2 separate regions of the Homo sapiens genome follow, and region 2 is linked to region 1. The links are contacts of gene promoters, found by promoter capture Hi-C in human tissues and cell types (Jung and others, 2019). All regions are on one chromosome and are shown on one strand. Each heading gives the region's core, a stretch centred on a gene start or on the middle of the fragment in contact. The rest is flanking DNA. Distances are from core to core; before and after follow the strand shown.

What was found. The method cuts DNA at HindIII sites, captures the fragments that hold promoters and counts their contacts. A contact is called where the count stands out against the background at its distance.
Region 2: a contact is called between a fragment that was not itself captured here and the fragment with the promoter of WIPF3 in region 1, in 1 of the 25 tissues and cell types used here (ovary).

The regions. Positions count from the first base shown.
Region 1 is chr7:29,802,025-29,807,937 of GRCh38, forward strand. WIPF3 (WAS/WASL interacting protein family member 3) reads left to right here and starts at 4,484. Exons shown (of 9, transcript NM_001080529.3): 1 at 4,484-4,654. RefSeq lists an enhancer at 4,220-5,129. The HindIII fragment of the contact is 12,406 bases long and covers 2,965-5,913 here.
Region 2 is chr7:29,837,227-29,843,023 of GRCh38, forward strand. All of the region lies in intron 2 of WIPF3 (WAS/WASL interacting protein family member 3), which reads left to right. Among named protein-coding and RNA genes, the nearest start is that of WIPF3, 34 kb to the left of the region's middle. The HindIII fragment of the contact is 3,282 bases long and covers 553-3,834 here.

The DNA.
Region 1 (5,913 bases), core at 3,234-5,733:
ATTTCTTTCAGAACTCAACAAATGTGTATTGAGTACCTACTATGTGCTAGCCTCTGTGCTGTGAGATAAGGATACAAAGGTGACAGAGATGGTTCCTGAGGTCATGAATACCACAGTCTAGCCTGGAGGACAAATGTTACATCATTAAACAGATATTGTCATCATACAACTGTAATAAATGCACAAAAGAAAGGTACATGAGGTTTTGAGAGCTTATAGAAGAGGGTGACCTAGCTGAGATTCAGATAAGTTGTGGCAAGGTTTAGTTGAGATCTGAAAGATGGAGAGGAGTTGACACTTGGGGTCTTCTTCACAAAGAGGGAAGAGCACATTCAAAAAGCCTGTGACACGAAGGAATATTGCTGTCAAAGGATCTGAAAGCAGGGCAACATGGCTGGAGGACAGAGATGGAGGGGAGGACTGAGAAAGGTGCGTTGGAGAGTGGGTCAGGCCAGGTCATGAGGGCCTTCAGACAAAGCTCGGGATCTTGGTTTTATCATCAGAGCAATGAGAATTCATTGAACTACAGATAATGTGAATTGATAAGATCAGCTTTGGGTTTCAAGACGCTCTCCCCGGCCACACTGGGGAGAATGCTTTAGAAGAGAGAAGTGGCATATGATTACAGAGGGAAAAGCTAACAGGTTCCTGGGAAAGTCCTGGAGAGAGGTGATGATGGGCTCTAGTCTCAGCTGGTGGTACAGATGGGCAAAATTGGACAGATTCAACAGGCTCAACCTCAAGGAGGGTTGATGGGGGAAAAGTAGCTTTACAAAATTTCTGGGTGGTCCAACTAGATGGCGGGGGGTGGGGGGCATTGGGGGATGGGCAACAGAGTGGGTCAGGTTTGGAAGGAAGACCTGAAGTGTGGTTCCAGACCTGTAGCATTTGAGGCTCCTAAACCACCAAGCTCTTTCAGACTTTCTTTTCCCTGAAATGCCCTCCCTTCCCCACTTTCTGACAGGAGAAACTCCATTCATTAATGGATGCCCAACTCAGGTCTTGCAGGCTCCCTCCTTTTCTACAGATAGTTCATCATTTCTTCTCCTGTATCAGCTCTCTCTACAGCACAAGCTCCTCTCCTACCCAAAATTGCAATATTCTCTTCACAAGCTGTGTTCTCTACTAAGCTGTTGGCTTCCTGGGGGGCAGGGCTGTGAATTCATCTTTGCACCCCTAGCACCAGTGCAGTATCACCAGAAAATAGCTGATCTGTACATATTTGAGAGATTGAAGTGAGCACATGTGTACAAAACACTTAATATTTCTGGAGTGCCTTTCTCCTGAAGAGCTCAAGAAGTTACAGAACAGATATAAATATATGTTTGCAAGTGGAAGGTGTGAAAGGTGAGCTATTGCAGACACTTGGTGAGTGAAGAGAAGAAAAGAGGAGGTTTTTGCTCTTTACCAGGTCATAGTATAAGTTAGGAATACATTTGGCTGCAAAATTAGAAAACGAATTCTCAGAGGCTGAAACAAACATGGGTTATTTTTCTCACATAGGATATAGTCCATCCAGAGGTGGACAGTTGCACACTTTGGCTCAAGTGCGCAGTGATACCACACTGACTCTATTTCCCAGTGTGTTGTCCCAATTATATTGACCTTTTGGCCTCACAGTCTTTGGCTCTTGATTGCAATCTGGTTGTAGCATTACTAGGCATTTCATTTGCATTCAAATCATAAAGAAAGTGGGAAATGGGCTGGGCGCGGTGGCTCACGCCTATAATCCCAACACTTTGGGAAGCCAAGGTGGGCAGATCACCTGAGGTCAGGAGTTCGAGACCAGCCTGGCCAACATGGTGAAACCCCGCCTCTACTAAAAATACAAAAATTACCTGGGCATGGTGGCAAGCGCCTGTAATCCCAGCTACTCAGGAGGCTGAGGCAGGAGAATCTCTTGAACCCCGTAGGCGGAGGTTGCAGCGGGCCAAGATGGTGCCATTGTACTCCAGCCTGGGCAGCAAGAGCAAAACTCTGTCTAAAAAAAAAAAAAGAAAAAAGAAAAGAGGGAAAAGGAAAGACAGAACCAGAAAAAATTTTTCAGAGGCTCCCCCACCAGACCCTTCTTTCAACTCATTGGCTAGAACTGGGTCAATGACTTCCTTAGCTGTAAGAAAGACTGGGAAATCAGGAAGGGGATTGTCATGGTCGTCTTGGATCAATCATAATCCTGGGTTCTGTCACTAAGGAAGAAGTGGAGAATAGACTGATAATTGGGAAGACAATTCACAGTGTCTGCCACTGAACAAGTACCATCTACTAGGAAGAGCTAGTGCCTTCTTGAAGTCAATTTGTCTTAGTGGAGCTAGGTGGAAATGAATCCCTCCCTAATGTCCGTAGGAACAAGATGCTAATGGTATTGTTACTTCACATGGATAGAAAACACTGATCACCTGAATGGAATGCCTCTTGAAGCTTTCAGCCCCAAATGTCCAAATTGATTCCTCACTCACCACCTCCCCATCCCTACAACCAGGCATTTTAAAAAACAAATTCTTTGATCCAATCCAGCATCTCTTGAGATAAATAACAGGCTTTCCATCCAACTGGCTCATGCTTGGGCTGCTCAGGAGATCTGATGGGAACTCTCTAGGCCCATGGCAATGTCTTCTCTAATAGTTTGACTTTTCTTCCTTTTTGAATTAGAATACTAGTGGTTATGTATTTAGTGAGCTTTAGCACTGGAGGTCCAGAGAAGGAGAGTGGCTGGGTCATGTTTTGGGGTTTTGGGTTTTGTTTTTGTTTTAGTAACAATCACCCATGTAAGAGGGCTTATGAATTTTATGTTGGAGAACTGTTCTTCAGGTTCCATACCTGTGGTCATCTATTATGATTCTAAAGGAGGAAAGGGCAAGAGGAACTCAGGACAAACAGGTGGAAAGCAAGTGCCTCATCAGCTTCCACTCACTACACATAGACCTTTCGTCACCTAAATCAAAAGAGAAAACCATGTTCTTGACGACACTGGAGTGAAAGACATCAAAAGTGTATTATTAATCCTTGCTTTCGACACATTGCCCAGCTACAAACATGAGTAATTAAGAGATCAGCTAAGGGCTGCTTGGGGAACATACTTTGACAGCAGCCACTACAGAACTTGAACCTGAATACAGGCTGCAATCCACGTGTGAGATCTTCCCTGCTGGCATTGGCTGCTCCCTCACCTGGGTCCCCAACATTTCACACAAGCCTCAGCACAGCGCTGAGCGCCAGGTTTCTCCTCTATTCCAGACCAGCAGCAACTTTAGAGTTAGACACCTTGCCCTGAGGCCCTGCAGAGTGTCTGGCTCATGGCAGATACTCAAACACCGAGGCTGAGTGAACAGTCCACGAGTACCCGCTTAGCTCCTCCACTAGCAGGAATGCCCAGGACATGGGCAATACAGAATCCTCACCCAATGATCTCAGCACCTACAGCAATGCATTCAGCCTCGGACACAAACTTTCTGCATCCTCCAAGGGCCTGAACAAGAAATGTGACAGAAGCAAGGTTTTCCGTTCTTCAAGCTTATTTCAGGTTTGTTTTTGTTTGTTTCTTTGTTTGGTTTGGTTTGGTTTTTTGAGACAGGGTCTCACTCTATCGCCCAGGCTGGAGTGCAGTGGTTCATTGCAACTTTTGCCTCCTGGGTTCAAGAGATCCTTCCACCTCAGCCTCCCGAGTAGCTAGGACTAGAGAGCGCCACCACACCCGGCTAACTTTTGTATTTTTTGGTAGAGACAGGGCTTCACCATGTTGGCCAGGCTAGTAACTCCTGACCTCAAGTGATCCGTCCACCTCGGCCTCCCAAAGTCCTTGGATTCCAGGCTTGAGCCACCGCGCCCGGCCCTATTTCAGTTTTCAGTCTGCTTTCTCCTCCCTTCGACTCTACCTGGGACATCAATCTACCTCCCCAGGCTACCCGGATAATTCTCTCATCACCTGGCTAATTCACACTCAGTCTTCAGTTTTTCTCGTCGACGTCAGCTCCTCAAGAAGCCCTCCCTGACCTACTCCCCACCCCAAGTTTAGATCAGGTGCTCCCTCTGGGAGCCGGCTCAGGAGGCCTCTGCCTCCTCTTGGTTGTGCTGTAATCGCCCATTGGTCGCTTTCCTTTTCTAGACTGTGAACTCCACGAGGGCAAGAGGTAATCTTGTTCTCTCGTCCCCATCGCTTATGACACCGCCTGGAGCTTAGTAAGGGCTCAACATTTTGGAATAAATTCAAGGAGTGGCGTGTCCCCAGAGTAGCTGTGCTGGGCCGTGTGCCGCCCGCGCAACAGCTCCTATTTGGGGAATTCCAGCCTTAGGCCTCAGTCTCTCCGCAGCTGAGACTTGGGACTCTGTACCCGGGAGGCGCGCCCGCCGACTTGGGACCCGCCTCCAGGGTCCCAGAGCGACCCCGCCCGCCGGGGCCGTGTCCCTGCCGCGGGGCGGCGGCGGCTCCCAGGCAGGAGCCTGCGAGCAGGTGGGGGCGGCGGCCCCGCCTCCGCGTCCCGGCAGCACCAGAGCCGGTGGCCGGGGAGCGAGCCGGGCGCACCGAGCGCAGCTCGGCGGTAGCGGCGCCGCTTGGAGCACGGGCGCTGCGGGACGGAGCCCGGAGCCGGAGGCGGCGGCGGCGGAGACGTCGGCCGGAGCTCGAGTCCAGTCCAGCCCCCGGCTCCGCCACCTGCAGGTAGCGGCTTCCCGCGCGGGTGCGGGTCGGTGCCCGAGGGTGGAAGGAACGGGCGGTGTGGCGGCCGCCGCCCTGGTCGGTCCCGGAGCAGAGTGGCCCGGCCCGGGACAGAGATCCTGAGGGCGTGGGAGGGCCGGGGAACCCCCGCCGGGCTGCAGCCCCGGGCCCAGGAGGTTGTCGACGTGCCGCGCGGCGCTCACGCCCCCCACCCGCACCCTGCCACGCCGCCCCGGCCGGGCCGGGCCGGGCCGGGCGGAAACAAACCGCGGGGTGGGGAGCGAGGTCACCACGGGGTTGCTTGGTGACTTCTCCGGACTGGACTCCCCGGTGAGCAGCCCCTGGCACCGAGGCCGCCTCGGCCTGGTCCTTCGCGACGCTCTCTCTTCTCCGCTTCGCCCCCGGAACAAAAGGCTGGGGTCTCGCTGGGGAGGGGGCTGTCGCGGGAAGGGCTGGGGCGGAGTAAAAGAGAGCTAGGAAATTGCAGAGCCGGAGGTGGCTTGGGGAATACAGAAGGAGCCCCCTAGTGAGGAAGCCAACTCCAGAGATGTGAAGTGACTTGTCCAAGGTCACACAGCTCATGGGGACAGAGCGCAGGTCTCTGGACACCCCTCCCGTGCTCATCTCCAAGCCCCTGGGGTCAGTAGTCAGACTGTGCTCCAGCAATGTACATTTGGCCACAAATGGGTTTAGGGTCCTTTGGAGGATTAGGTGGTGGGTAGGTAGGTGGCAGAGCAGATTTCCCCCAGCCCCTGACACGCACTCTCTGAAGGTGGCGGGGAGGGCGGGCACCCGGCCGCCCTGGACCTGGAGGAGCGCCGCCCGGGCCCCGTGGGCAGGCAGGCACCGGCTCTCAGGAACAGCGCCTTTGGAGGGTGGCGTGCCAGCCGCGTGGGTGTGCCCGTGGCGGGCGCCGGGGCGGCGTGGGGACCGTGTGTGCGCCTCCCTCTGGAAAGAAGTTTCTGCAGGGAAAGGCCAGGAGAGCGGTTCCATGCGCCCTGGGACAGTGTGGCCAATCCCTGACACTCAGGGCGCTTTGTAACTGGCTGTATTGGGGAGGAAAGTTACTCTGTAGCAGGAAGTTAGGCTGTCTCTTCGCCTCTGTGCCTGGGGTCCTTGGCTGTAAATGAGGGCCTTGTTTGGCATGACCAGTGTGATTTAGAAGGTTTGTGCCCCTCCGCCTCCTCCTTTCCAGAATCTTTTCTCACTTCACAGGGAGGACTGGGAGTGCACTTCTTGTGCCCAGCATTAATAGTTATCAC
Region 2 (5,797 bases), core at 944-3,443, 33 kb after region 1:
GCGCCTGTAGTCCCAGCTACTCGGGAGGCTGAGGCAGGAGAATGGTGTGAACCCAGGAGGCGGAGCTTGCGGTGAGCCGAGACCACGCCACTGCACTCCAGCCTGGGCAACAGAGTGAGACTCCGTCTCAAAAAAACAAACAAACAAACAAATGAAAAACACATTTTGTGCATAATGAAATCAACTACTTAATATATGTAATAAATAGCAAAAATCAGAAGAGAATTTGATAATGTTGACAATAACATTTAATATTTTATTAGGGAATTTCTTCTTTAAAGATGCTTAAATGCATAATAAAAATAATTGTACATTTGGTTAAATTTTTTGAATTCTCTCCTTCATTTCTCTCTCTCTTTCTCTTTCTGAAGAACAGGTCAATTTAGGAGTAAAATAATCATGTAAATTTTAATATTTTCTTAAAACATATTTTCTACATTTATGTAGAAAAATAATGTGTACACTTACAATACATATTAAAGGCAAATAATTAACGTCTTTAGCATATAAAGAGCTCTTACAGATTACTATGGAAATGATGAATACAAAGATGGGCACAGGATATGATTAGATTGAAGAAATGCAAATATTTTAACCTCACTACAGTTTAATAAGAACAAATTAAAATAATGAGAAACCATTTTTATCTATCAGTTTAGTGAGATATTTTTATTTATTTATTTATTTAGTTAGTTAGTTATTTAGTTATTGAGACGGAGTCTTGCTTTTTCGCCCAGGCTAGAGTGCAGTGGCACTATCTCGGCTCACTGCAAGCTCCTCCTCCCAGGTTCACACCATTCTCCTGCCTCAGCCTCCCGAGTAGCTGGAACTACAGGTGCCCGCCACCACGCCCGGCTAATTTTCTCTATTTTTAGTAGAGACGGGGTTTCACTGTGTTAGCCAGGATGGTCTTGATCTCCTGACTTTGTGATCCACCTGCCTCAGCCTCCCAAAGTGCTGGGATTACAGGCGTGAGCCACTGCGCCCAGCCTAGTGAGATACTTTTTAAATGTTGGCTGGAGTATTAGGAACTAGGCACTTATAACTCTTGGTGGGAGCAAAACTTAGTGAAATGCCCTAAGATACAATTTGTCAGTAAAAAATGGACCTAGTTTCACTTCAAGTAATTTTCTTGACATGGCTTCACTTCAAGTAATTTTTATTTAAGTAACTAATCATAGATATACAGAAATATATAGCTATAGGAGATTAATGAAAGTATTACTTGTAATAATAACCAAAAAGAAAGAAACAAAAAACAACCCACATTTTTTATGACAGCAGATTCAATAATTTATTATATATCCTCTAAATGGTATATGAAGCAGCCATTAAAATCATATCAGAATTAAAAAGAAGAAAATGACAAATGTTGGCAAGGATGTGGAGTGATGGAAACTCTCATACACTGCTGGTGGGAGTGTAAATTGATATAAACCCTTTGGAAAACCGTTTGACAGCACCTACCACAGTTAAACATGTGCATCCTAGGTAGATATCCAAGAGAAGTATGTGCCTGCATGACCCAAAAGACATGTTAAGAACATTTGTAGCAGCATGAATAGCACAAAACTGGAAACAACCCCCTATGTCCATCAATGGCAGAATGGATTGATAAAATGTGTGTTATGGTCATGCTCTAAAGTATTATACAGCAGTGAAAATGAATCAACAATACATGCAACAATGTGGAGGAATAGCCACGTGACAAAAGAATACATGCTGTATGATCCCATGTATATAAAGCTCCAAAACAGAAAAAAATAAACTACAGTGTTTAGGAATGCAAGACAAGCTGGTAAAATTATGAGGAAAAGCAAGAAAGGGATAACCATAAAATCAGGAGATGGCACCCTTTGGGAGGAGAGTGGGGGACTCAGGATCAGAAAGGCCCTGGGTGCTTCTAGAGTGCTGGCAAGACTCTAATTCTTGACACAGGTGGCGATGACATACAGTATCACTTTATAGAAATACGTTAAACTGTACAAAATTATTTTATGTGCTTTTCTATTTGTGGCACTGGACAATTTAAAAGGTTAAAAGAGAAAAAAATCATATCCAAATTAATTTGTAACTTCCAATGTCGTGATTGATTCAGACAAGAATCATCTATGAAAGCTAAAACCACTGGGTGAAAGGTTGTGGGGGAAAAAGATGTTCTCAGGGTCAGAAGTATCACCCACAGATGCTTCTTACTGCAAAGGGGAAAGTGTCTCTTTAAAATGGATCAAACTTACCGTCACGTGTAATGGAATGACCTCCTATCACAAGCCTCTGCTGGATACAAGGAGGCGCACAGAGCGTCACCCTGTGGTAATCTGCCCGGAATGAATGACCTCATGAGCAAGCAATCAGACACATGCAGAATGTGGGACCTTCTGCAACAGAGGCTGGCAAACCAGGACCCCTGAGCCACAGCCAGCTCACCACCTGTTTTTTATCGTCCTCCAGCTAAAACTGGTTTTTACATTTTCAAATGGCTGGAAAAAAATTAAAAGAAAAGTAATATTTTGTGACACATGAAAAGTATACGAAATTCATGTTTCAATCCATAAATAGTGTTATTGGAGCACAGCCACACTCATGCAATTTGTCTATGACTGTTTTTATGCTACAGCAGCAGAACACCAATTAAGCAAAATGTTATTCCTCAAAGAATTCCATTCTTCTCACTAGTAGGCTTGAATTTTAAAAATTTTACTCAATTATTATTACTATGTTCTGAGTTCTGTCAATAAATATTTTGTGGAAGTTTCTTTTCTCTTTTGTTATATAAGTATATACATTATATTCTAGATTTTTGCCTCTTGGCCCACATACCTAAAATATTTACAGCCTGGCCCCTTCCAAGAGAAGTTTGCCAACACCTGTCCCGCAGTCAGCTGGGCTCATTCAGCCTCCCATTCCCACTACCCACCACCCACCCACTGCAGTAGCCAGAGATCTTGCATGCGCACATCCTCTGCTTCTCCTCTCGAGAACTTCCTGGACCCTGTTGAGCTGTGGCCCACTCCATCCTGCATGGTCTGGCCCCTGCCTGTCTCTAAGACCTCCTCCTGTGCCCCTGTCCTGGAGTCTCCTACTTAAGGCCTCTGCATAGCCATTGAGAGCCTGGAAAGGCTCTACACAGTCATCCCAGCTCAGGTGTCCCTTCCTCCTACATTACTGGCTTTTATATCTTTTATATCTGCAAACCCCCCACTTCAGAGCAGGTAGTAGTTTTTAACTTTTTTAAAAATTTGACTGGGGTCTATATTTGATGTTTTGTGTCACTCATGCCTGGCTCGAAATAAGTACTCAACTCACTGAATGAATGAATACATGAATGAATGAACAATTATTTATGTAAATTGGGTTAAGAAATGGAGTTAAAACTTTTTATAATCAGTGTTCAGGACTCTAAACATCTATGTTGTGAAAGAAAAAAGTATATTTGAAGGTAGAAAGCATGGTAAGAAAGACTTTGTTTAGGACCATCACAACAGGTGGATAGGATTTTGCAGTAGGGGAGAGAGATTGGGCTCAACTCCAAATACAACATGGGCAAGAGGGAATGTATAGCCCAGGAGCAGGGTGGGGGTCAGTGAATATACTAAAAAGAAACATCAGGGCTAAAGGAGATTCTGGCTGAATGCAGCTAACAAGATTCTTACTGAAGACAAGCCAGGGTGATCGGACATACCCTGGTGGTTGGTGAAGGATAAGGCACCTGATCGGATATCAAGGGTGATCAGATATCGAGATGGGGTCGTTCTTGCTAAACCGACGTAGCAGGGGGTTTTGCCAAAACTGGATTTTACAAGGGAGTGCACAGATGGGCCTGGGAGAAGCTTTGGAAGCTTGGTTAAATTTTGGTTACAAGGTCAGGATTCTCTGGTCAAGCAGAGAGCCTTTGTCAGTGGCATAAGCCAGCATGTCAGGTTTTATTATATGTAATCTTTGTAAGATGGGGATCATTTTGTGTGATATGTCTGATCCTCTGTAACGAAATGCAAACTTCACACCGGCTCTGGAAGACCTGGGGAGTAGGTTAGGGGGAAATTAGGCTAAACATTTTTTAGTTTCAGCCTTCTACCTCTCTCCCCTCACCCCTTCTTGCTCCTCCTCATCTCCGTCGCTGATGAGCATCTTTTCTTTTTTCAAGAGCGTGGAACAGAGAAAAGGGCTGATGGAGCCTGCTGAAGCTGTGGAGCAGGCTTAAAGCAAAGCCAGACGGGCTCTCTTCATCTCCTTTCCCTCTTTTCTTGCTTCTGGTTCCCCAGTTTTTGAGCTCCTTTGTCTGATCTCTTTAAAATTCAATGTTGTCTGGCACAGTGGCTCAAGCCTGTAATCCCAGCACTTTGGGAGGCCAAGGCAGGTGGATCACTTGAGGTCAGGAGTTCAAGACCAGCCTGGCCAACATGGTGAAACCCCATCTCTACTAAAAAATACAAAAATTAGCCAGGTATGGTGGCGAGCACCTGTAATCCCAGCTACTTAGGAGGCTGAGGCAGGAGAATGGCTTGAACCCAAGAGGCGGAGGTTGCAGTGAACCAAGATCACACCACTGCACTCCAGCCTGGCTCAAAAAAATAGTAATAATAAATAAAAAATAAAATCCAATATCAATGTCAAAATTGCCCACATGGTGTGTTGGTCCACTTAAAATTAAATTATTACTGTTGCTTTACTTATAAGATGTAACCTAAAAATATATCTAAAGGAAATAGAATGGATTTGATATTTGAAATGCATCAGAATTTTACCAAACTTTTCCTTTCAACTGTACTTTGACCCCTTGGTAGATTCCAAGATGAGCAAAGAAGCCCCTCGGGGGCCTGTGATTTCGGTTTTCTTGCCACAGTCCCTAACCATGGGCAGTGCACTCTCCCTACATGTCACTGACCAGCTGAGAAATTCTTTGGAGTTGGGTTGCCCAGGCAAAGCCTGACAGTAGGGTTTATGGCTACAGCATTTGTGTTTATTTATAAAATAGAATGTGGATTTTTATACCATTATTATTTAATGTTGCCATTCAAGTTTCAATATCCTAAGGAAGAAACAGTTCACCTAGGGCAGGCCATGTCTTATTATTTAAATACAAAGGGGAAACTGGCTTGATAATCACTTTTTACCATGAAAAGCAACGCTCTAAGTAGGAAGACACTGAGGTGCCGTATATTTCTGCCTGCCCGTTCCGGGAGTGATGTTTCATAGAATGCTGAAGGGAGATTACAGTGAGAGGCTTATCGCACCCCTAGCTGTTTTCCTCCCTCGTTCCTGTTTGCCAGAGTCTTTGCTTTCAGGAAATTCAGTGGCATGATTTTTCTCCTTGTAGTCTAAGGATTGCATGATTCCTCGGCAAAGTGGGCTTTCGAGTAGGAAATATAAGCTGTGACATATATTGGGAGGTTTTCCCACCGTCTTTAACATGCTGGGGTGCATGCAGTGTAGAAAAACATGCCAATCTGTGAAAGAAAATGGAGAAAATGGAGTGCCCTCTGAAGTCTCATGAGAGCTTTTTTTGGAATTTTGTGTTTGCTGTTGTTAAAAAAAAATGCAGGGGCAGAGGGTCGCTAGGTGGAAGGGTGCTTAGTAGAATTGCATATTGCACCATATTCTGGAAAAGGTAATTTGCATGTCTGCTGGTTCATTTGGAATAATGAAAGGCTTAAAAATTCTTACACACTGTCACTCACTTAGGTTCCCCTGACACTCTGGTACTTCGATTAGTGTCACTAATGAGGGACTGGGGACGCTTACCAGGAACTGATAGTGGCCACTGGAATAAGGATAAGGCATTTGCATCAGGCCAAGC